Regions from separate parts of the Homo sapiens genome. Here regions 2, 3 and 4 are each linked to region 1. The links are contacts of gene promoters, found by promoter capture Hi-C in blood cells and fetal thymus (Javierre and others, 2016). All regions are on one chromosome and are shown on one strand. Each heading gives the region's core, a stretch centred on a gene start or on the middle of the fragment in contact. The rest is flanking DNA. Distances are from core to core; before and after follow the strand shown. Region 1 holds the start of LINC00207 (long intergenic non-protein coding RNA 207). Region 2 holds the start of SULT4A1 (sulfotransferase family 4A member 1). Region 3 overlaps SAMM50 (SAMM50 sorting and assembly machinery component). Region 4 has its middle 18 kb from the start of PARVB.

Region 1 (5,084 bases), core at 771-3,270:
ATGGCATGAGGTGCGAAGAGTGCTCACCTAGGCCGGCACATCATGGGCTCTCTGGGGACATGGACCATTTTCTCCTCCTCCCGAGGCAGGCCAAGCTCCAGGAAGCAGAAGACCTTCCAATGTGGGAGGAGAGGGTACTCAAGGGGTAGCCCAGTAGGGCTGAAGGTCTTCCCCGGTGCCCTGTGCAAACATGGGGGCAGGTGGGTGGTGCATGGCAGACCTGGTGTTCCTGGACATGGAGGCAGCCCATGGCCACAGCTGTGCTGAGACTCAGGCCACTCAGTTCATCCCTCTGCATCCCTCTCCCCCTCCTCCCTAAAGCCCTGCAAACCTGCCTTCGTGGCCCTTTTCTTCCCTGATGAGGCTTTGGAATGAGCTGCTTTTTTTAGCCTCTCCAATCAGGCCGGCATCGTGCTTGGCTATTGTTAGCATCTCAGCTCGACGCCTCCTTCAGAAAGTGATGAGATCATCCTCCCAGAGGTCCACGGTCACCTTTCCACAAGGCTCAGCAACGTGCAGACCTCTCCTCCCATCCCCTACCCTGGTCCCAGGACAGGGACAGTGACAGCACTGAGAAGAGGAGTCAGGGACTGAACTAGGAGCAGGAAGGGAACTGGGAGTGAATGATCAAGGAGAATCTACTGTGGGCTCCGGACAGCGTCCTCTCTGCCCGCCAGCAACCCTTCCTTGCCTCTGGGGCCAGCACTTTGTTTTTCCCTCAAGGAGCCAGCTCACCTTCTGTGTCATGCTGTACTGACCCCCACGCCTTACCAGCCCATCATGCACGGTGTTCCCCTCTGGTTCAGTGATTGGATCCCAAGCAGGATGTGTAACCATCCATTCTCCTCTTTAAACAGAACCTGTTTTGTTGGAGTGAAAGTTTGCCCCCTTAAAAATAGGTGTTACCAGGTTCCCTTGCAGCTAGGAGTGGCCATGGACATAAGAGGAAGTCTGCCAGTTTAATTTCCCATAAAAGGGGATGGTCTCAGGGGCACACACCCTTCTTCCTGCCTGGAATGTGGATCTGATGCCCAGAGCAGGAGCAGCCACATTGCAACCATGAGGATAAAAGGTGCAAAGACTGGACTTTCTGACAAAGATGGTGGCACAGATGCACACATGTACATTTGCCTCTTCTTGAACCCTCACTAAAATGATGGTAAAGATCACTTTACGGACATTACCCTCAAGCAGAAAGAGAAAAGGGGAGGAGGCCCAAGCACCAACATTTTGGAGACTGGAAACCTGGTGGATGAGCCGTAACCCACTAGGTGAGCTTGAGAAGCTGAAACATGGCCGGCCAGCAGCATGCAAAGATGAGAAGCAACAATGGGCTGGGAGGATGGAGATGCCAGATATTTCTGGAGGGGAGTGAAGGAGGATTGTTTCAAACAACAGCAGTTAGTCTTCCTCTCACGGGAGGGACAGAGACAGAGACAGCTATCCACTCCCACTGCTTACACAACTGGGAGATTGCCCCTCCCTGAGCCTGGCAGAAACCCCAAGATTTATTATCAAGAAAGGGTCTGGCAGAGGCCTCTGGACTGGGGGATGCCACTCCAAAAGCAGGGCATGTACTGAGTATTGGAGACCCCCGCCTCTTTCTCCTTGCAGCCCCCGGAAAACCGGCAGCCAGGCCTCACGTGCAGCAGGGGGGAGCTGGGGGATCATTTTGGTTGGGGTCAGTTCCACTGACCTTCCTAGTGGAAATCCTCACACTCTGACCCCCAGTGACCCCCCGGGGAAGCAATCCGCCAGATCACCTGCAGTGGAGACCGCAGTCAGAAAACGCTACCCAAGGGCTCAGCACTTCCAATCAGCTTCTTTGTTTTTTAAATGAAGTAGACATTTAAATGACGTTTATATTCAGTGAAGTGCACAGATCTTAGCACAGTTTGATGAATTTTGGCAAACTTACTCCCATGTCACACGCCTCCCTCAAGGTAGAGGACATTTCTGCCAGCTGGAAAATCTCTCACCAGGTCACCCTCCCATCTGATCCCCGTCTCCATCGCCTGTCCTCCCCATCCCCTGCAGGCCGTGCTGTTCCGATTTCTATCAGCATAGAGGAGCCCTGTCTGTTCTAGAAGTTCATATAGATGACATCACACAGCACATACTCTTCTATATCAGGCTTTGTCACCTAGTAGAATGTTTTTGAGAGTCATCCATGTATTGCAGGCCTCAGGGGTTTGCTCCTTTCTGTGGTTAAATGATCTTCCATGGTTTAGAATGGAATATTTATCCACTCTCCTCTTGACGGACATTTGAGTTCTTAATAGTTCTTGGCTATCACAAATAAAAGTGCTATGAACATTCTTGTACAAGTTTTTATGTGGACATGTGCTTGCTTTTTTTTTTAATTGAATAAATAACTAGACATAGAATTGTTTGGTCACAGCAATTTTGTTTAACTTTACGGGAAATTGCCATATTGATTTTTAAAGCAATTGTACCATTTCACATTCTTACCAACAATGTATGCATTCTAGTTGCTCCGTATCTTTGTCAACACTTGTTAGGGTCTTTAAATTTTAGCCATTCTGGTGGATATGTAGTGGTATCTTGCTGTGACTAAAATGTGTACTCCCCTCCCCCAATGACTAATGGTGTTGAAGATGATTTTTATGTACTTATTTGCCATTTATGTATCTTTTTTGGTGAAGTGTTTGTTTAAATCTTTGTCCCATTTTTGGGAACTTTTAATTTTTTTTTTTTTTTCCAGACAGAGTTTTGCTCTTGTCACCCAGGCTGGAGTGCAATGGCGTGATCTTTGCTCACTGCAACCCCCACCTCCCAGGTTCAAGTGATTCTTCTGCCTCAGCCTCCTGAATAGCTGGGATTACAAGCATGCACCACCACGCCCAGCTAGATTTTTGTATTTTTAGTACAGAGGGGATTTCACTATGTTGGCCAGGCTGGTCTAGAACTCCTGACCTCAGGTGATCCGCCCTCCTCAGGCTCCCAAAGTGCTGGGATTACAGGCGTGAGCCACCCCGCCCAGCCGGATTTTTAAAATTATTGAGTTGTAAGAGTTCTTTTATTTTTTTTAACCTCTGAACTTTTTATTGGCCTCCTGCTCTCTAAAGGGTACCCTGCTTCTGCTGCCTTAATGTCTCAGAACTTTGGTGTCGTTGGTCTCAGACACCACTTTGCCATCCACTCTCTGGTGGGTGGTGGTCTTTGGAATGGTTTGCATGGAGTTGCTGCTGTCCAGGGCATCTCCAAGATTGAAGTCCTTGCCATCTTCCAGCAGGTGGCAGTAGGTGGCGATCTCAGCCTCCAGCTTGACCTTGATGTTCAGCAGGGCCTCATACTCCTGGGCCTGGCACTGTCCCTTTGCCTGGGTCTGTGCCAGCTCTGACCCCAGGTGCAGCAGGATCCCGTTGAGCTGCTCCATCTGCAAGGTGTAGCAGGCCTTCACCTCCCTCACGCTGTTCTCCAAACTGGCTTTCAGATTTCTCATGGAGTTCAGGTTGATCTCCAAGGACTGGACTGTACATCTCAGCTCTGTGAGCGTCATCTCAGCAGCTCCAGCCTTGGCAGACTGCGTGGTGACCACTGTGGTGCTCTCCTCAATCTGCTGAGACAAGTACTTGTCCAGCTCCTCTCCGTTCTTCCAAGCCAGCTCGTCATATTGGGCCCGGATGGCTGCCATGATCTTGGCGAGGTGCTGAGATTTGGGGATCTACCTCCATGGTCAACCCAGAGCTAGCAATCTGGGCTTGTAGGCCTTTTACTTCCTCTTCGTGGTTCTTCTTCATGAAGAGCAGCTCCTCCTTGAGAGCCTTGATCTCTGTCTCCAGCTGCAGCCGAGTGACGTTGGTGTCATCATTGACCTTACAGAGTCCATGGATGTTGCTCTCCACAGACTGGCACATGGCCAGCTCTGTCTCATACTTGACTCTAAAGTCATCAGCAGCAAGATGGGTGTTGTTGATCTGCAGAACAATGCAGGCATTGTCTACAGTAATTGCCAAGCTCTGAGCCCTCTGGTTCCTGATGGTCTTGAAGTAATGGCTCCAGTCTCTGACCTGGGGTCCCTTCTTCTCCAGGTGCTCCCAGATTTTGCTCTCCAGCTTCCGGTTCTTGGTCTCCAGGTGCCTCACTCTGTCCGGGTAGGAGGCCAGCAGTCGTTCAGGCTTTGCATGGTCTCCTCGTTCTGGATGCCTCCCATTCCTGCCAGACCCCAGTCATCCCCGCGGCCAGGCCTCCGGACTCCATGCTGCCCCGGAAGCTCGTGGAGCAGGACACGGAGATCCTGGAACCAGAGTTCCCAGTGCCTGCATAGACGCTGGCCACACTGCTGACCGGCCGGTGCCGTAGCTGGGCGCCTGGGCAGGGCCCAGGGATCGGTAGTTGGTGGAGAATGTGGAGCAAGTGGTGAAGCTCAAGCTGTCCGGGGAGGAGGGAGAGAGGACAGGGCTTGGGTTTTGCCCACCAAGAGTTCTTTACATAATTCTAGATACAAGCCCTTTGTCGGATGCATATTTTGTATATATTTCCTTCTAGTGTGTGACTTTCCTTTTCATTTTTGGAACAGTGTGTTTTAAAGGACAAACACTTATAAGTTTGATGCAGTTCAATATATCCAATTTTTCTTTTAATAATTAGTGGTTTTTGTAAGATATTTTGCCAAACTTGAAGTCACAAAGATTTTCTTCTATATCTTCTTGAAAAAGTTTTATGTCTTTAGCTTTTACACTTAGGTCTAGGATGCATTTCAAGTGACTTTTTGTATATAATGTGAAGTTTCAAGGTTCATTTTTAAAAAACATACGGCTGTGAAATCATTTCAGCACTTTTTGTTGAAAAAAGTTTATTTAAACATTTGTTGAAAATCAATTGACTATATATGTGTAGGTCTATTTCTACAGTCTGTTTTCTCTTCTATTGATCTCTATGTCCATCTTTATGCAAATTCCACAGTCTTGATTACTGTAGCTTTATAAGAAGTCTTGAAACCAAGTGTGTAAATCCTCCAACTTTGTTCTTCTTTTTCAAAACGGCTCTGGTTATTCTGAGTTGTTTGCATTTTCAAATTTTAGAATCGGCTTGTCAAATTCTACCAGAAAAGCCTGCTG
Region 2 (5,084 bases), core at 1,722-4,221, 710 kb after region 1:
TACTTCCACATGTACCTCTGAGGCAAATGGACATTTTTACATAACCACAGTGCAGTTTTCAAATTTAGGAAATTTAAAATAGAATATCATCTAATCTAGAGTCTATATTCAAATATTGCAAATTATCTCATTAATGTCCATTATGGCTTTTTTTTTTCAGACGGAGTCTTTTTCTGTCACCCAGGCTGGAGTGCAGTGGTGCAATCTCAGCCCACTGAAACTTCCATCTCCCAGGTTCAAGCAATCCTCCTGCCTCAGCCTCCTGAGTAGCTGGGATTATGGTGCGTGTCACCACTCCCAGCTAATTTTGACCAGACCTCACTTACAAAACAAACCCAAAGATAAATGCAACAATTTCAAGATAGTGACCACAGACCATTAAATTCCAAAGTGTGGGGCCCTTCTGAGCACAGAACCCTGTGTGACTCCCCTGGTTGCGTATCCGTGAAGCAAGGCCTGCATCTATGTCCATGTCTGTACTTTTATCTATGTCTATATCTTCATGTAACCGCCACTAAGAGCAAGCTATGATGTTTCCAACACTATGGAGGGTAGGTAACCTTGAGTCTGCTCCCAGTCAACCCTCTTTCCAATGCCCCAGGTTAAGACTATTCTCACCTCTATCACTATAGATCAGTTTTGCTTGGTTTTGACTGTATATAAATAGAATCATATGACATACCATTTTTTGTGCTTGACTTAGTTTGTTCATCATTTTGACTGTGACATTCTTCTCAGTTACATTCCTTTTTTAAAAAAATTACTGTATTCCATTGTATGAATATATCGCAATTTATCTATTCTACTGTTGGGTACGTGGGTTTTTTCCCATTTTTGTCTAACATGCTCAAATTGTTTCCGATTTGACCTATGATAATACTTTCATGTTATACCCTGTGTCCTTCTGACCTATTCCCAACATTTTTGAACTTGCAGGAGTTCAAGACTCAACAAGACATTTTAGGCTCATCTTGTACTTTCCTTGCCCTGGAGTTGGCTTTTTCTCCAAGAAACCCCAGGTTCATTTGGTGAGGGAAGTATTTAGCAAAGATCTGGGCAGTGGGTATGCCTAGTATTATTGAGATATCACTGCCTAAAGGCTTTTCCAGCAAATATAAGAAATAGGAATTTTAAAATATCATAAACTCATGTCAATACCTCCAATTCCAATCCAATACCATAGAGTTCTTCCCTGCCTTCTCGCATTCCCCACTTACATTTTCCTTCTCCCACAGTGAGAACCCTCACCTGAAACATCAGGATATTCATTCATTCACTCAATCCCTCTAGCTTTTGGCTAGATGCCCTTTTGCCATTGGCCTAATTATTCTGAATAAAGGCTGGGTGCTCGGAATGTCCTCTTTCTTTTTTGGAAAGACATCTACAAGCTTCCCAAGTCAGGATTAATTGCTGTTTCCTCTCTCTGTCTGCTATGTACACATGGCCTGCGCTTCTCAGCCCATGTGTATGTCTTTGGTGTCAGAATGCACGTGTCTCACTCTACAGTAAGAAGGAGAGAGTAGGAATAGGTCCCGTCCAGCCACTCTGCTCCAGATTCTTGTTGGTGTAAACTCCTTCCATCTTCCTGGCTACACTACTTAGAGGTAGGAATCATTCTTTTCCTTTACACAGCTGATGATGCTCGGCTGCAGAGAATGAGAGCAGGCTGTGTTGTTTTCATCTTTGTGCTTCCCCAGGCATGTTAGTAGGTGCTTCATATATGTCTGTTGAGTGCATGACTGGCAAGGGGTTGCACTGAGATCTCTAGAACTCGGTTGCTCTCAAATTATAGTTTGCACAAGAAGTGCCTTACTAAATGTATATTTTTGTAATTTTTCTCCATAGATCTGGGGTCCTGGAATTTGCAATCCAACACTCCCCTCCCCTACTCATGGGATATTAAGAAGCACTTTTTGGCTGGGCGAGGTGGTTCACACCTGTAATCCCAGCACTTTGGGAGGCCAAGGTGGGCAGATCACGAGGTCAGGAGATTGAGACCATCCTGGCTAACACGATGAAACCCCGTCTCTACTAAAACAAACAAACAAAAAATACAAAAAATTAGCCAGGCATGGTGGCATGTGCCTGTAGTCCCAGCTACTCGGGAGGCTGAGCCAGGAGAATGGCGTAAACCCGGGAGGTGGAGCTTGCAGTGAGCTGAGATCGCGCCCCTGCACTCCAGCCTGGGCGACACAGCGAGACTCCATCTCAAAAAAAAAAAAAAAAAAAAAAAAGCAAAAAAAAAGCACTTTGTTTTTTTGGCTGGACTAGGTGGCCCATACTTTTTTTTTGTTGTTGTTAGAAGATCTCGTCCTGTTGCCCAGACTGGAGTGCAGTGGTGCAAGCTCACAGCTCACTGCTAATTTTTTTTTTTGTATGTTTGTAGAGATGCGGTTTCACCATTTACCCAGGTTGGTCTCGAACTCTTGACCTCAGGAGATCCGCCCGTGCTCGACCTCTCAAAGTGCTGAGATTACAGGCGTGATCCACCGCGCCTGGCGAAGACGCATATTTTTAATAGGACCTAATATTTACCTGAAATTATCTTGGTTATTTACCAATGTAAGCTCCAACAGGGCCAGGCTTCTGCTTGCTTCTACCCTGACGCGTGTCGGGGCCCTGGCCCAGTGCCTGGCACAGATCAGCAGCGCGCTAAGCACGTGTTGAATGGACGACTACCTTTCAGGGCCTTCCAGCCAGGGTATCTCATGCGTCTGTGTTGAGCGCTTGCTGAGTGACAGAAGCTATGAGCGGAATGAACGCACGCACGACTGAGGAGGCTGCAGACCGCGGGCCAGGGTCTCTGTCAGCCCCGGCAGCGGGTGGGTGACCCCGGCCGGGGGCGGGGCGGGGAGGACGCGGCTCCGCGGCGCCATGACGTCACGCCCGTGCAGCGCCGCGGCCGCGTGCCGGGCGGCGCCATGACGTCATACCCGCGGAGCCTCCGCCGCGCGTCGGCGGCGCCATGACGTCACGCCTGCGGAGCTGCCGCCGCGCGCCGGTGGGGCGCGAGCGTGTGCGGGGCGCGGGCGCGGGCGCGGGCGCGGGCGCGTGCGGGCTGCGAGCCGGGAGGCGGCGGCGGCGACGGCGACGGCGGCGGCATGGCGGAGAGCGAGGCCGAGACCCCCAGCACCCCGGGGGAGTTCGAGAGCAAGTACTTCGAGTTCCATGGCGTGCGGCTGCCGCCCTTCTGCCGCGGGAAGATGGAGGAGATCGCCAACTTCCCGGTGCGGCCCAGCGACGTGTGGATCGTCACCTACCCCAAGTCCGGTGAGCCCCGCGCCGACCGCGCCCGCCACGCCATGCCCCAGCCCTGCAGCGCGGCCGCGTAGACGCCGCGCCCGCGCCCGGGGCTTCTGCTGGGCCGGGTGGTCGCCCTTGGCCTCCGCCCCTGCCGTGCCCACCGCTCTCCCGATGCTCGGATCCCTGCGGGGCGGGGTGGGGTGGGGTGGGGGTGGGAAGGGGCTTGGTTCTCATCTGGGGAAACCAAGGTCAGAGACCTTCGGGAGCGGCCCCTTCCGTGGAGATGGAGCCTATTTGGCCGGCGCTGCAGGAGGATGGGCCCAGGGCCGCCACCCATCCCTGCTTCTCCCTTTACCTGGCTGGCTGTGTGACCTTGGACAGGTCACTCAACCTCTCTGTTCCTGAATCCTGCCCAACCTTTGATGAGTGCAAAGTCCTGGTGTTCACCTGGGAAGGGAGATAACATGGGCGTCAGGGCTTTCAGCGTGGAAACGTAACGTCCCTCCTTTCCAGCCTGGGCTCCGGGTGGGGGATGGGACCAGTCCCCGCCTGGAGTGCCTTGCTTGTACATTCTCTTGTTTCAGGGCTGCCTCCATCACCGAGGCAGGACCTGGGGCATTCACATTTCCCAGCATTAGCTGACGTCACTTTCACAATAACAGCTGTGTGAGCTAGTGGTGGTCATTCCCACTTTACAGTCTAGGCACAGAGGCTCAGAGAGGGGAAGAGGCTGGTCCAAGGTCACTCAGCTGGTGAGTGGCTGACCTGGGAATTAAAGCTAGGCTGGTCTGTTTCCAGACCTGAGGTAGGAGATTGTATAGTACCCCATCTGAGGTTTTTAGGGAAAGGAGGTAGCAGCTTTCCTGTTCTGTAAACATGCCCTGGGATTTCCTTGTTGCCACTGTATTTGAGGCAATCACAGCGTGGTTTAGAAGGTGTCTGGCTCTAAGGTCACGCCGGACCAGCAGTCGGGCAGTTTCAGGAAAAGCTGTAGGCTTGGCTGTTGTAGCTGTATGGAGTTCCAGACACCTGAGGGCAGGTCTCTGACATTCTTCTGAGGAAGATTGGAGTAGGGACTCTCAGTGGAGGGTGTTGGTTGGAGAACAGAGCGTTCGATGGGCTGCTATCTTGAGCACATGCCAGTCGCCGCATGGGGTGGGACCTAAAATGCTTTAGGAATGGCTAAGCGTGTCGTTGGCTTCTGTGGCCACTCATTAAGTCCTGCGGGCCAAGTGCTCTATCGCTGTTAATCTGTGAGGGACTCTTACACCTTTTTTTCAGAGGCTCAGAGAAGGCACAAATTGTTCGGAGTCACACAGTTGCTGAGGGACAGAGGTCAGGTCTAGCTAGGTCTCCCGGTCCACGGCCAGCCTCTCCCCTGCCTTATGGGTGCTCCGTTGCCCTTGGAAAACCGTGAGGGCCCAAGAAGGAGGGGGACCTAGCCTTCTTTCTTGGAGGCTTTAAAATGCTGGAAGTCTCAGCCACTTAGGGATTTTGAGGTTTGTGTCACTTCTCTGAGGCCCCTCCAAGTGGACTTCTGGTAGCCCAGTTCATATTTTCTTTTCCTTTCCTTCCATCTGCTACTGGGGATGGATTTGTAGCAGGCATCAGTGCTTACACATTAAGAACCTGGCTTCGGAGTTGGAAGTCCTGGGTTTGAATGCAGTTTTGCGGCTTACCAGCAGAGTGACCCTGGGCAGATCATAGAATCCCATTGAGCTGTGGTCTCTGCGGAGGGAGAAGAGACCACCTCGGCCCGCTGATGTGTGGCTGTGAGGATGAGCAAAATGGCGGGTGAGAACGCTTAGCCCACGTCCAGACACACGCTGGAAAGGCTCGTG
Region 3 (5,084 bases), core at 1,829-4,328, 580 kb after region 1:
AATAAGCACAAAGCACCTGAGGGAGGGGGTGGGAACGCTTCACACCTGCTCCTCCCAGCTAGATGGAGAAAAACGCAAAGGAGGAAAATACATGTGTTTTCATTATTTTGCAACTATTTAATTCTCTTAAAATCTTCAAGCTTAAAAGCCACTAATGAAATTAACCACGTCCAAAACAAAATAAAATTACTGGAGAGTGGGATGTGATTGTGGAAAATAATTCCCAACACGTACCTGTCGCCTGTCTGTACTCCCATGGGGACGCAGTAATTAAGTTCCAACCGAGCGATGTTGCCAAGCCTGAGGACAATCCCGGCCCCGTACGACCAGCGGATGCACTCAGCCAGCTTACGAATATGAGCTTTGGGGCCCTCCCCTGAAAAGAGAAAGACCTGTGAGCAACAGTGCGTGCCCGTCCTTCCAAGCTCTCCCAGCTCTCCCAGACAAGCCCTGGCTCCCCCTGGCTGGGCCCTGCAGTTGTTTTTAAAGCCAGGCCTAGAGATTAGGGAGGATGCATGAAGTGAGATTAGGACCCAGGTCAAGAGAGGACTTGGAGCCACACTTACTCACATCCAGAATGAGCCACGCCTTCTCAATTCTTTGGGCCTGGCATATTCTGTTCCCTCTGCTTAGAATGACTTTTCCCCATCCCCTGACCACCTGGGAAGCCCCACTCTGAGTCTCAGCTTGGAGACTTCCATGCCTTCTAGGAAGCTTTCCAGGCACCCCTAGCACCCAGGCATCTGCTGGGAGTCTCTTCTGGACCTGAACTCCCTGAGGAAGGCACCCAATCCTACTCAGCTCTGTGGCCATCATGACTTGTTTATTAAATAGACAAACAGATTTTTCTTCGTAAGGGCATTAGATGATTATTTTTCTTGTATGCTTCATTCGCTCAACCAACCACTTAATGCTGGGCATTATGTTAGCTGTTGTAAGAATTTTTTTCAAGTAAGGCACAGTCTCTAACTTTAATGACTATGTAATCTAAAAAGACAGACATGGCCTGGCACGGTGGCTCACACCTGTAATCCCAGCACTTTGGGAATCCAAGGGGGGTGTGGATCACGAGGTCAAGAGATCGAGACCATCCTGGCCAACATGGTGAAATCTCGTCTCTACTAAAAATACAAAAAATTAGCCGGGCGTGATGGCACGCGCCTGTAGTCCCAGCTACTCGGGAGGCTGAGGCAAGAGAGTCACTTGAACCCAGAAGGTGGAGGTTGCAGTGAGCCGAGATTGCGCCACTGCACTCCAGCCTGGCAATAGAGCGAGACTCCATCTCAAAAAAAAAAAAAAAAGACAGACACCTCTTTGTGTACTGTGCTTTTAAACATGAAAACAACTGTACTACAATGGTTTCTTGAATAGCGCAAGTTTTACCATAGTTGAGGTTGCAGAGGTTTCCTGCGTTGAGAAAGAAGTGTGTTCGGAAAAGTTCTCCAAAGCCACCCTGGCCTGGCCGGAAAGGTAATGGGGTGTAGAGGTGCAGGCCGCCGGCCCAGTACGCTTCTCCACCTAGGTAGTCTCCTAAGCAAAGGAGGGGTGCAGAACAAAAACAAGGTCCGACAAGGTTAACATCACGTTAACTTTCCACAACTTACAGAAGCAAGATTTCTGTCCTGTAAACAACGCCACACAGTGCTGGAGTTTGCAAGCAGCTGTTCTTCTCATTCCTGATACTGATGGCCTCATTTTAAATAATCTTTCTTTTTCTCCTGGTTTGTTTCACACCTTGATTTAACTGAGGAGGCAAACAAAGCCAATGTCGTTGAGGAAGGAATGCACTCTGTCATTCATCGTATCTGTGAAATGCTTTGAAGAAATGAGTCTCATGACAATAACTTTATCCACAAATGTAGATGACCAACTCACTTCCACCTGCAAATGAAATGCATTATTTTGCCAAATTTTCGAGAGCGCAATAGAGACAAAATGCAGAAAGCGTCTCTGCAGTGTGTGGAGACAGCTGCACATGATTAATCAAAAGGCAGAGGCTGCCTGCCACCCACTGCACAGCGAGACCAGGTTCCAGCTCAGTGTCTCCAGAGAAGAGACAATTCTCAACGGTTCATGACCGCTTGGATTTAGGTTACTTTTGCCAAAGTGTAAGCCTATCCACTGAGAGCATGTATTTGCATATTTCTAAAAACGTTCCTGTCCATTCCATTTTAAACTATAAAGCAACAGAAAACATACAACCCAAAGGTTTATACTTTGTTGCAAAATACCATTTATACAGTGTCTTACTCTCCTCTAATACAAAATGACAGACCATGAAATGGGAAAATACTGATGTCTTCAAGACTAACTTCAAGGAATGAACTGCTGATTCATTTAAAGACTTCAGTTCCTCACAATCCAGAGGAAGGAAAAAAAAGACACCAACATCTCCTTAATCCCTTTCAACACGAGAGCTCTGATGGGAACAGAGAATGAACAAATTGCAGGAGAACAACCTTGTTTTTTGTTTCCCAGAAACCACTCCTCCTCTCTCTTCTTAAATAACTGATTTTATTCTGAACATAAAAGTTAAATATACTCATTGTAGAACATCTGATCAACATAAAGAGAAAAAAATGAAAATATTTTAATTTCTACCATTCAGAAATAAACAGCTAACATCCTGATGTCCTTTCTTCCAGTGGATTATAATGTAAATGTAAAACCAAATAAGCAAGCCAATAAAATGTGGTGCTTGCTTGCTCTCTCTCTCTCTGTGTGTGTATATATATATATATACACAGTTTCCAGTCCTACTTTTTTTCAGTTTTAATATATTGTAAACACTTTCTCCTAACGCTTTATCTTCCTTGAAAATGGGGTTTTTATGCCTGAAAAACAACATAGGTGGACCAATATTTAATGATCTATTTCTCTTCTATTGTCATACTGGTTTCTAAGTCCTTTATCATGGACATTAACCTATGATGAGTTTCCTGGCACAAACATGTATTTTTTTAAGCTTTTATTGTGCATACCCATAGGAAAGTATACACATCCTAAGTGTACAGCTCAATGAATTTCTATATCTGAAACACATCTGCCCAGAGAGCACCAGGACCAAGAAACCAAGCACACCCCACATCAGACCTTGCCTTCCCTTCTAACCACCACCTGGTGCCCATACCACATGCAGCCACTGCCCCACCCTCTCACAGCACAGGCCACTTCACCTGCTTCCAAGCTTTATAAATGGGATCTTCCAGGAGGCATTCCTCTGGGTCTAGCTTTTCCTCCCGACATGTTTCTGAGATTTACTCATGCCATCATTCAGCCAGTGGCTGTAACTTGTTCTTCCTCATTACAGTAGAAGATACCATAATTATCTGACCATTTCCTACTGTTGATGGGCATTTCGGTTTCCAGTTTCCAGCTTGGGGCTATCATTAATAGTATTATTAACAATTCTTGAACATACACATTTTAAGGCTCTTGATACATCAAACCACTTTCACAAAAAAATTATAGCAATTTACATTCTTGCCCACAGAGTCTGGCCAACCGCACGGAGGTGGTGAGTGGAACACCAGCATGCCTTACTTCTCAGGTAGGTAAAGGCTCAGCTCTCATAGACTCGGCATATCACACTTGCTTATAATAAACAGATGAAATAAAACCATCAAAAACTTAAGTTACTTTTCTTAAAAATTACACTGTAATGAAGCACTCTAAATACGAGTGAAAAGAAATAATCTATACTTTCGACAAAAATTTATGCAGAGTGTAGTTGTTGCTTATAATGACATAAAAATGGAAGCAACAAAGGTGCTGAAGATTTTAAGAAATCCTGGGTGCAGTGACTCACGCCTGTAATATGAGCACTTTGGGGGGCCAAGGCGGGCAGATCACCTGAAGTCAGGAGTTCAAGACCAGCCTGGCCAACACGGCGAAACCCCATCTCTATTAAAAAATACAAAAATTAGCTGGGCGTGATGGCGGGCACCTGTAATCCCAGCTATTCAGGAGGTTGAGGCAGGGGGAATCGCTTGAACCTGGGAGGCAGAGGTTGCAGTCAGCTGAGATCACGCCACTGCACTCCAGCCTGGGCAACAGAGCGAGACTCCGTCTCAAAAAAAAAAAAAGTAAGAAAATCAGGGGAGAATGTTTAATAATGGAATAATATGCATCCACTTAAATGATGTTTTAAAGTTCCATAGCATGTGGAGATACCTCTGACGGATGTTGCATGTCAGAGACGGTTCTAGGAGTATAAATGAGACAACCTTCCCAGAAAGTACGATAAAGCCCTAAAAGATCTGGCGATTTCACATCTAGAATTTCATATTAAAGTAAAACTTGGCCAGGCGTGCTGGCTCACACCTGTAATCCCAGCACTTTGGGAGGCCAAGGCGGGCAAATCACGAGGTCAGGAGTTTGAGATCAGCCTGGCCAACATGGAGAAACCCCGTCTCTAATAAAAATAGAAAAATTAGCCGGGCATGGTGGCGGGCACCTGTAATCATGCTACTCAGGAGGATGAGGCAGGAGAATCACTTGAACCTGGGAGGTGGAGGTTGCAGTGAGCTGAGATTGCGCCAATGCACTCCAGTCTGGGCAACAGAGCAAGACTCCATCTCAAAAAAAAAAAAAAAAAGAAAGAAAGAAAAAATAAATAAATAAATAAAACTTACAGATGAGTACCAACATTCAGTTCGAAGGTGAATACATTGTTTTATAATCATAAAAGAAAAAAAAAAACACAAACTCAATGTCCAAAGCTTGGGATTTGGTCTTTAAAAAGATAATAGTGTGTCATAAGACAAAACACGCAGCCATTAAGATGATAAACTTTCTCTCTCTCATTCCTCACTGGGGAAATGCAAAAGGACGCGGCCACCCCGGAAGCTCGCCTGGCAGCTCCTTACAAAGGGGAGGCGTGCTCTTAACACGTGACCAAACAACTGCGCTCCCCGGCACTGACTCAGCAGATGTGACAACTTATGTCCCAGAAGCTGTCCACAACAACCTGCGCGTGAATGTTGATAGAAGCTTTACTCATCACTGCCAAACACTAGAAGCAACCAAGCTGTCCTTCGGCAGCTGAATGGACAAACAAACTGTGGTACTTCCAGACAAAGGAA
Region 4 (5,084 bases), core at 813-3,312, 560 kb after region 1:
CTTTATTTATTTATTTACTTATTTATTTTTAAGATGGAGTCTCGTTCTGTCGCCCAGGCTGGAGCACAGTGGTGCGATCTCGGCTCACTGCAAGCTCTGCCTCCCGGGTTCACGCCATTCTCCTGCCTCAGCCTCCCGAGTAGCTGGGACTACAGGCACCCACCCCCACACCCAGCTAATTTTTTTTTTGTACTTTTAGTAGAGATGGGGTTTCCTCGTGTTAGCCATGATGATCTCGATTTCCTGACCTCGTGATCCGCCTGCCTCGGCCTCTCAAAGCGCTGGGATTACAGGCATAAGCCACCATGCCCAGCCTGTCATCTCTATTTTTATAAGCAAGCAAGAAAGACAGGCAGGTTGTGGCAGCACTCTTGGATCCGTGTCCTCAGAGTGGCAGACCCAAGCATCTATCTCTAATACAGTCTGAGTGTTATCAAAGTCAGCCAAAGTATGCTGCAAAAGATAAATACTTTTCTATAACTAAATGGTATGGTTTTCTCAAAATCTAAAAGAAAAATGCAAAATGAATCTTTTTTTCTCAGAAGCATGCTTTCCTTGCACATAGTAGGCATCCAGGTATATTCACTCAATCATAAAATCCTGTCTCTAGACCGCGCGTGGTGGCTCACGCCTGAAATCCCAGCATGCTGGGAGGTTGAGGTGGGTGGATCACTTGAGGTCAAGAGTTTGAGACCAACCTGGCCAACATGTGAAACCCCATCTCTACTAAAATACAAAAATCAGTTGGGCGTGGTGATGCGCGCCTGTAATCCCAGCTACTCGGAGGCGGGCGGGGGTGCTAAGGCAGGAGAATTGCTTGAACCTGGGAGGCGGAGGTTGCAGTGAGCCGAGATCATGCAACTGTGCTCCAGCCTGGGTGACAGAGCAAGACTCTGTCTCAAAAACAAAACAACAACAACAACAAAAAAAACCTGTCTCTAAAGGTAGAAACAACCCAAACGTCCACTGACACATGAAGGGATAAAGAAAATGTGGTGTATGCATGCGTATATACATGAAATTCTGACTCAGCCTACAACGCAGATGAACTTTGAGGACATGATGCTAGTGTGATATGCCAGTCACAAAAGGACACATACTGTATGATCCTGCTTAGATGAGGCACCTAGAGGAGTCAAATTAATAGCGACAGGAAGTAGAACAGTGGCTGCAGGGGCTGGGAAGGACCGAATTGGGAGTGAGTGCCTAATGGGTGCAGGTTCAGCTTCGGAATGAAAGAGTTCTGGAGATGGGTGGTGGTGATGGTTGCTCAACAGTGTAAATGGATTTAAGCCACGGAACTGTAGACCTCAAATGGTACATTTTATGTGCATTTTACCAAAAAAAAACTTTTTTAAAGCCTGTTGTCAAACCCACATAAATCAGGGCCTAAAACTAAAGGTAATTCAAAGTCTTGCCTTGGGGGATTGGAAAAGCCTCTAAAACTTTCTCGTGGAGAAGAGGAATCTACAGGAAGGAAGGAGATGGAGACTTCCCGCTGAGGAGCGCAGGAGGGAAGAAATGAGTCCAGAGGCTCCCAGAGGCAGAAGAGGGTGAACAGAGAGCCCGACCTTGGGAAAGAGAATAAAGGATGCTCTGGCCATGACCCACGACTGGAAATTCACATGAATCTCTGGCCTCCAGCGTGGGAGTGCAGAGCCTGATGCAGGCCCCATGCTAAACTGCAAAGCAGCACGGGAAAGGATGGGCTTCTCGGAGGAGACTCCACTCCCCCCAGCCCACCTTCCTCCCATAGGCGGAGCTGGGCACCCCCTCCCCATCTTTCCTGGGTACCCCCTGCTGACCTGTTCTTCCCCACTAGACCTGAAGTGTCATCTCCGCCCGCTGTACCCGCAAACGCAGCCTCGCACACACTAAGAGCTTGATCGCTGTCCCCCAAACGGTTGAATGAACGGAAGGTAGTGGCCACTGACAGTAGGTGGATGGTAACCATTGTGAAGCTTCCTATGGGTCCCTGGGATCTTTGTGCCTTTTGCATCCGCGCAGCAGAACTCACATGGATGGGAGCAGCTGATCTGGGGCTCCCCTCCTGCACTTGCCCAGGTGAAAGATTCAGCGATGAAGGTGATTTGCCCTCACACGGGGCATGACAGGGGGAGGTACTGCACACAAATAGAAGGAAATGTTAGGTAACAAAGCTTTGCTGTTACTAGCTTTCTGGCTGCCTGTCCAGGAGATCCTGCCACGTGGCAGGTGGGAGCTGAGTTACCTATGAGAGGAGAGGGCTGAAGGTATGGAAGTGTGCTGAGTTCAAACCTAGAGGGTGCTCCTCAATCCTGACTGCACACACAGGCCACCTGGGAATCTTGCAAAACCACAGGGTGGGCTGGGCAGGGCCTGGAACTCTGCATTTCTTTTTCTTTTTTTCTTTTCCGAGATGTAGTCTCGCTCTGTCACCAGGCTGTAGTGCAGTGGCACGATCTCGGCTCACTGCAACCTCTGCCTTCTGGGCTCAAGTGATTCCCCTGCCTCAGCCTCCCAAGTAGCTGGGACTACAGGCGCATGCCACCACGCCCGACTGATTTTCTGTATTTTAGTTAGAGACAGCGTTTCACTATTTTGGTTAGGATGGTCTCAATCTCCTGACCCCGTGATCTGCCCACCTTGGCCTCCCAAAGTGCTGGGATTACAGGCATGAGACACGGCATCTGGCCAGGACTCTGCATTTCTAATGTATCGTCAGATTCCTGCACTACACTTGGAGTGGCGTAAGATGCTAGGATATACACTATTGAAAGCATTCCATGGGCCTGGTGTGGTGCCTTGTGCCTGTAATCCCAGAGGGTTGGGAGGCTGAGGCTGAGGCAGGAGCATCACTTGAGCCCAGAAGTTCAAGACCATCCTGGGAAACATAGCAAGACCCTGCCTCTATAAAAAATACTTTTAAAATAGCTGGGCATGGTGGCATGCGCCTGTGGTCCCAGCTATTCCAGAGACTGAGGTGGGAGGATCCCTTGAGCCAGGGAGTTGAGACTGCAGTGAGCTATGATAGCGCTGTTACCAGTGGAGGGTCTTGATTATGAGTCTTGGCGTTTTGAACAAAGAATTGGGCAAAACGCACAAACAAAGAAACAATAGAATGAAGCAACGGAAGCACAGATATATTGAAACAGAAGTACACTCCTCAAAGTGGGAGCAGGCTCTAGCAGTGGCTGAGAGCCCTGGTTACAGAATTGTCTGGGGTTTAAATACCCTCTAGGTTGTTACTTGATTACAACCGATGTAAATGAAGAAGTGGCCTGCGACCAGTCTGATTGGTTGTGGGAGGGGACCAATCAGAGGAACTTCCCATTTTTCATCTGCCATGCAGTGGAAAGGTGGGAGGGTTGAGTAGCCTCTGATCCTTTCGTTACTTGGGTGTGGAGAGGTGGGGTTTTCCTTTTGATTCAGCTCTAGGAAATCAGTGCAAATCAGCCTTAGGTACCCTGCCTCCAGAACCCATTCTCCTGCCTCAGCACCACTGCACTCCAGCCTAGGTGACAGAGCAAGACCTTGTCTCTGAAAAAATTAAAGAAAAGAAAGAGAAAAGCATGTAACAGGAACTACAGTATGCTATTATTTGTGTAAAAAGAAAAAAAAAAAAACGGCCAGGCGTGGTACCTCATACATGTAATCTCAGCACTTTGGGAGTTCAAGGCAGGAGGACTGCTTGAGCCCAGGAGTTTGACACCAGCCTAGGCAATATAGCAACACCCTGTCTCTACAGAAAAAAAAAAAAAAAATAGAAAAAATTAGCTGGGCACGGTGGCACACGCCTATAGTCTCAGTTACTTGGGAGGCTGAAGCAGGATGATTGCTTAAGTCCAAGAGGTTGAAGCTGCAGTGAGCCGTGATTGTGCCACTGCACTCCAGCCTGGGTGACAGAGTGAAACCCTCTCTCAAAAATAAATAAATAAAACTATAAAATTTTTTTAATCATTGATTTTTAAAGAGCTGTTGTATTTTTCCCACCTTTATTGCAAAATAAAGATTTTCTGTTTTCAAGGCTCATAAGCAGGTCGGTCAGGAGTCTGTTGAGTACACAGCACTGTCCCTGAGAACCTTTTAAATCAATCATCCATTTTTAGAATCTTTTTGGAACAATGGCTCCTAATTCTCCTTAAAATGTACTTCAGGTGCTTAACCCTATTGCCTGTTCTGGCTTAGCCCAGAAGACAAAAGCAGTGCATGCTCACAAACCGGACGTTGTGTTGCAGGACAATCAAAGACTGGAGAGACGGAAAAGGTTCAGGAGAGTTTATTAAATTAAGGTGATCACCAGCTCAGCCGGACATAGGTCCAGAAAGTTTGAGCCCCGAACAAAGGGCTTTTTCTACTTGTAAACATCTTAAGGCAGGAACTACGTGAGGCGGGAAGCAAGTTACAGAAGCAAGAAACAAAGACAGCATTACATTTCTTATATCTTGAGAGAAACATGTCTTGCCACCTAAACTTATTGGTCTTGTGACCCTGCAGCCATGCTAGGGAGGTAAGCAGGAACTCGCTGGGCCTGTAACAAACTTTGAGGAATGTGGAGTTGGGGAGTATAGATAAGGTCCACTGTCCACAGAGAGAAGACAGACTGTTAATATTCTCTTTTAACTTGAGAGTAAGGGGGGGGTCACACTTTGCAGCAACTTTGAGAGGATTTTAAAATTTCTATTACTACTACTGTTAGGTTATAGTTGATTTTATTAATTCCTTCTTCAGTTGCGGGGAGCTCAAAAGGGTCCTCACTGACTTCGCGCGCGACCTGGAGCGCCTGCTCCTGCCCCAGCACCTCTGCCAGCAGGGGGTACCCAGGCTCCCTTTTCTGTGCCCATGGCTCTGCTACTTCGTGTCTGCTGTGATGTCTTTGGCAAACATCTAGTTTGATTGTTTTTTTCTCACTCAAGCTCAGAAAAGGTGGAACTTATTTTCTCTGACCAGAGAATGACATGCAGATGGATACACCCCTCTCCATCCTGTTCTAGAGGCTTCCATCCCAAGAGTGGGGAAGGGCCAGCACCTGGCAAAGTTCTCCAAACAGAACTAGGGGCTCCCTGGAGAAGGGGAGTGGCCAGCCCTGCAGAAGCCAGGCCCAG

The links. Contacts are between HindIII fragments. The CHiCAGO score rates a contact against its expected background, and 5 or more counts as called.
Region 2: a contact is called between the fragment with the promoter of SULT4A1 here and the fragment with the promoter of LINC00207 in region 1, in 3 of 17 cell types (total B cells, M0 macrophages and endothelial precursors). The highest score is 6.6, in total B cells.
Region 3: a fragment that was not itself captured here is called in contact with the fragment with the promoter of LINC00207 in region 1 in 8 of 17 cell types (naive B cells, naive CD8 T cells, naive CD4 T cells and 5 more); the score reaches 7.0 in naive B cells.
Region 4: a contact is called between a fragment that was not itself captured here and the fragment with the promoter of LINC00207 in region 1, in 1 of 17 cell types (naive CD8 T cells). The highest score is 5.2, in naive CD8 T cells.

The regions. Positions count from the first base shown.
Region 1 is chr22:44,566,276-44,571,359 of GRCh38, reverse strand. LINC00207 (long intergenic non-protein coding RNA 207) reads right to left here and starts at 2,020. Exons shown (of 4, transcript NR_028411.1): 1 at 1,919-2,020; 2 at 772-860. It also overlaps the pseudogene KRT18P23. The HindIII fragment of the contact is 7,812 bases long and covers 1-5,084 here.
Region 2 is chr22:43,860,400-43,865,483 of GRCh38, reverse strand. It overlaps SULT4A1 (sulfotransferase family 4A member 1), which reads left to right and starts at 2,971. Exons shown (of 7, transcript NM_014351.4): 1 at 2,971-3,270. The coding sequence starts at 3,102. RefSeq lists an enhancer at 4,656-5,084. The HindIII fragment of the contact is 4,757 bases long and covers 1,391-5,084 here.
Region 3 is chr22:43,985,557-43,990,640 of GRCh38, reverse strand. SAMM50 (SAMM50 sorting and assembly machinery component) reads right to left here. Exons shown (of 15, transcript NM_015380.5): 13 at 1,384-1,530; 14 at 235-376. Among named protein-coding and RNA genes, the nearest start is that of SAMM50, 33 kb to the right of the region's middle. The HindIII fragment of the contact is 222 bases long and covers 2,968-3,189 here.
Region 4 is chr22:44,003,935-44,009,018 of GRCh38, reverse strand. It overlaps a transcript of PARVB not described here. Among named protein-coding and RNA genes, the nearest start is that of PARVB, 18 kb to the left of the region's middle. The HindIII fragment of the contact is 198 bases long and covers 1,964-2,161 here.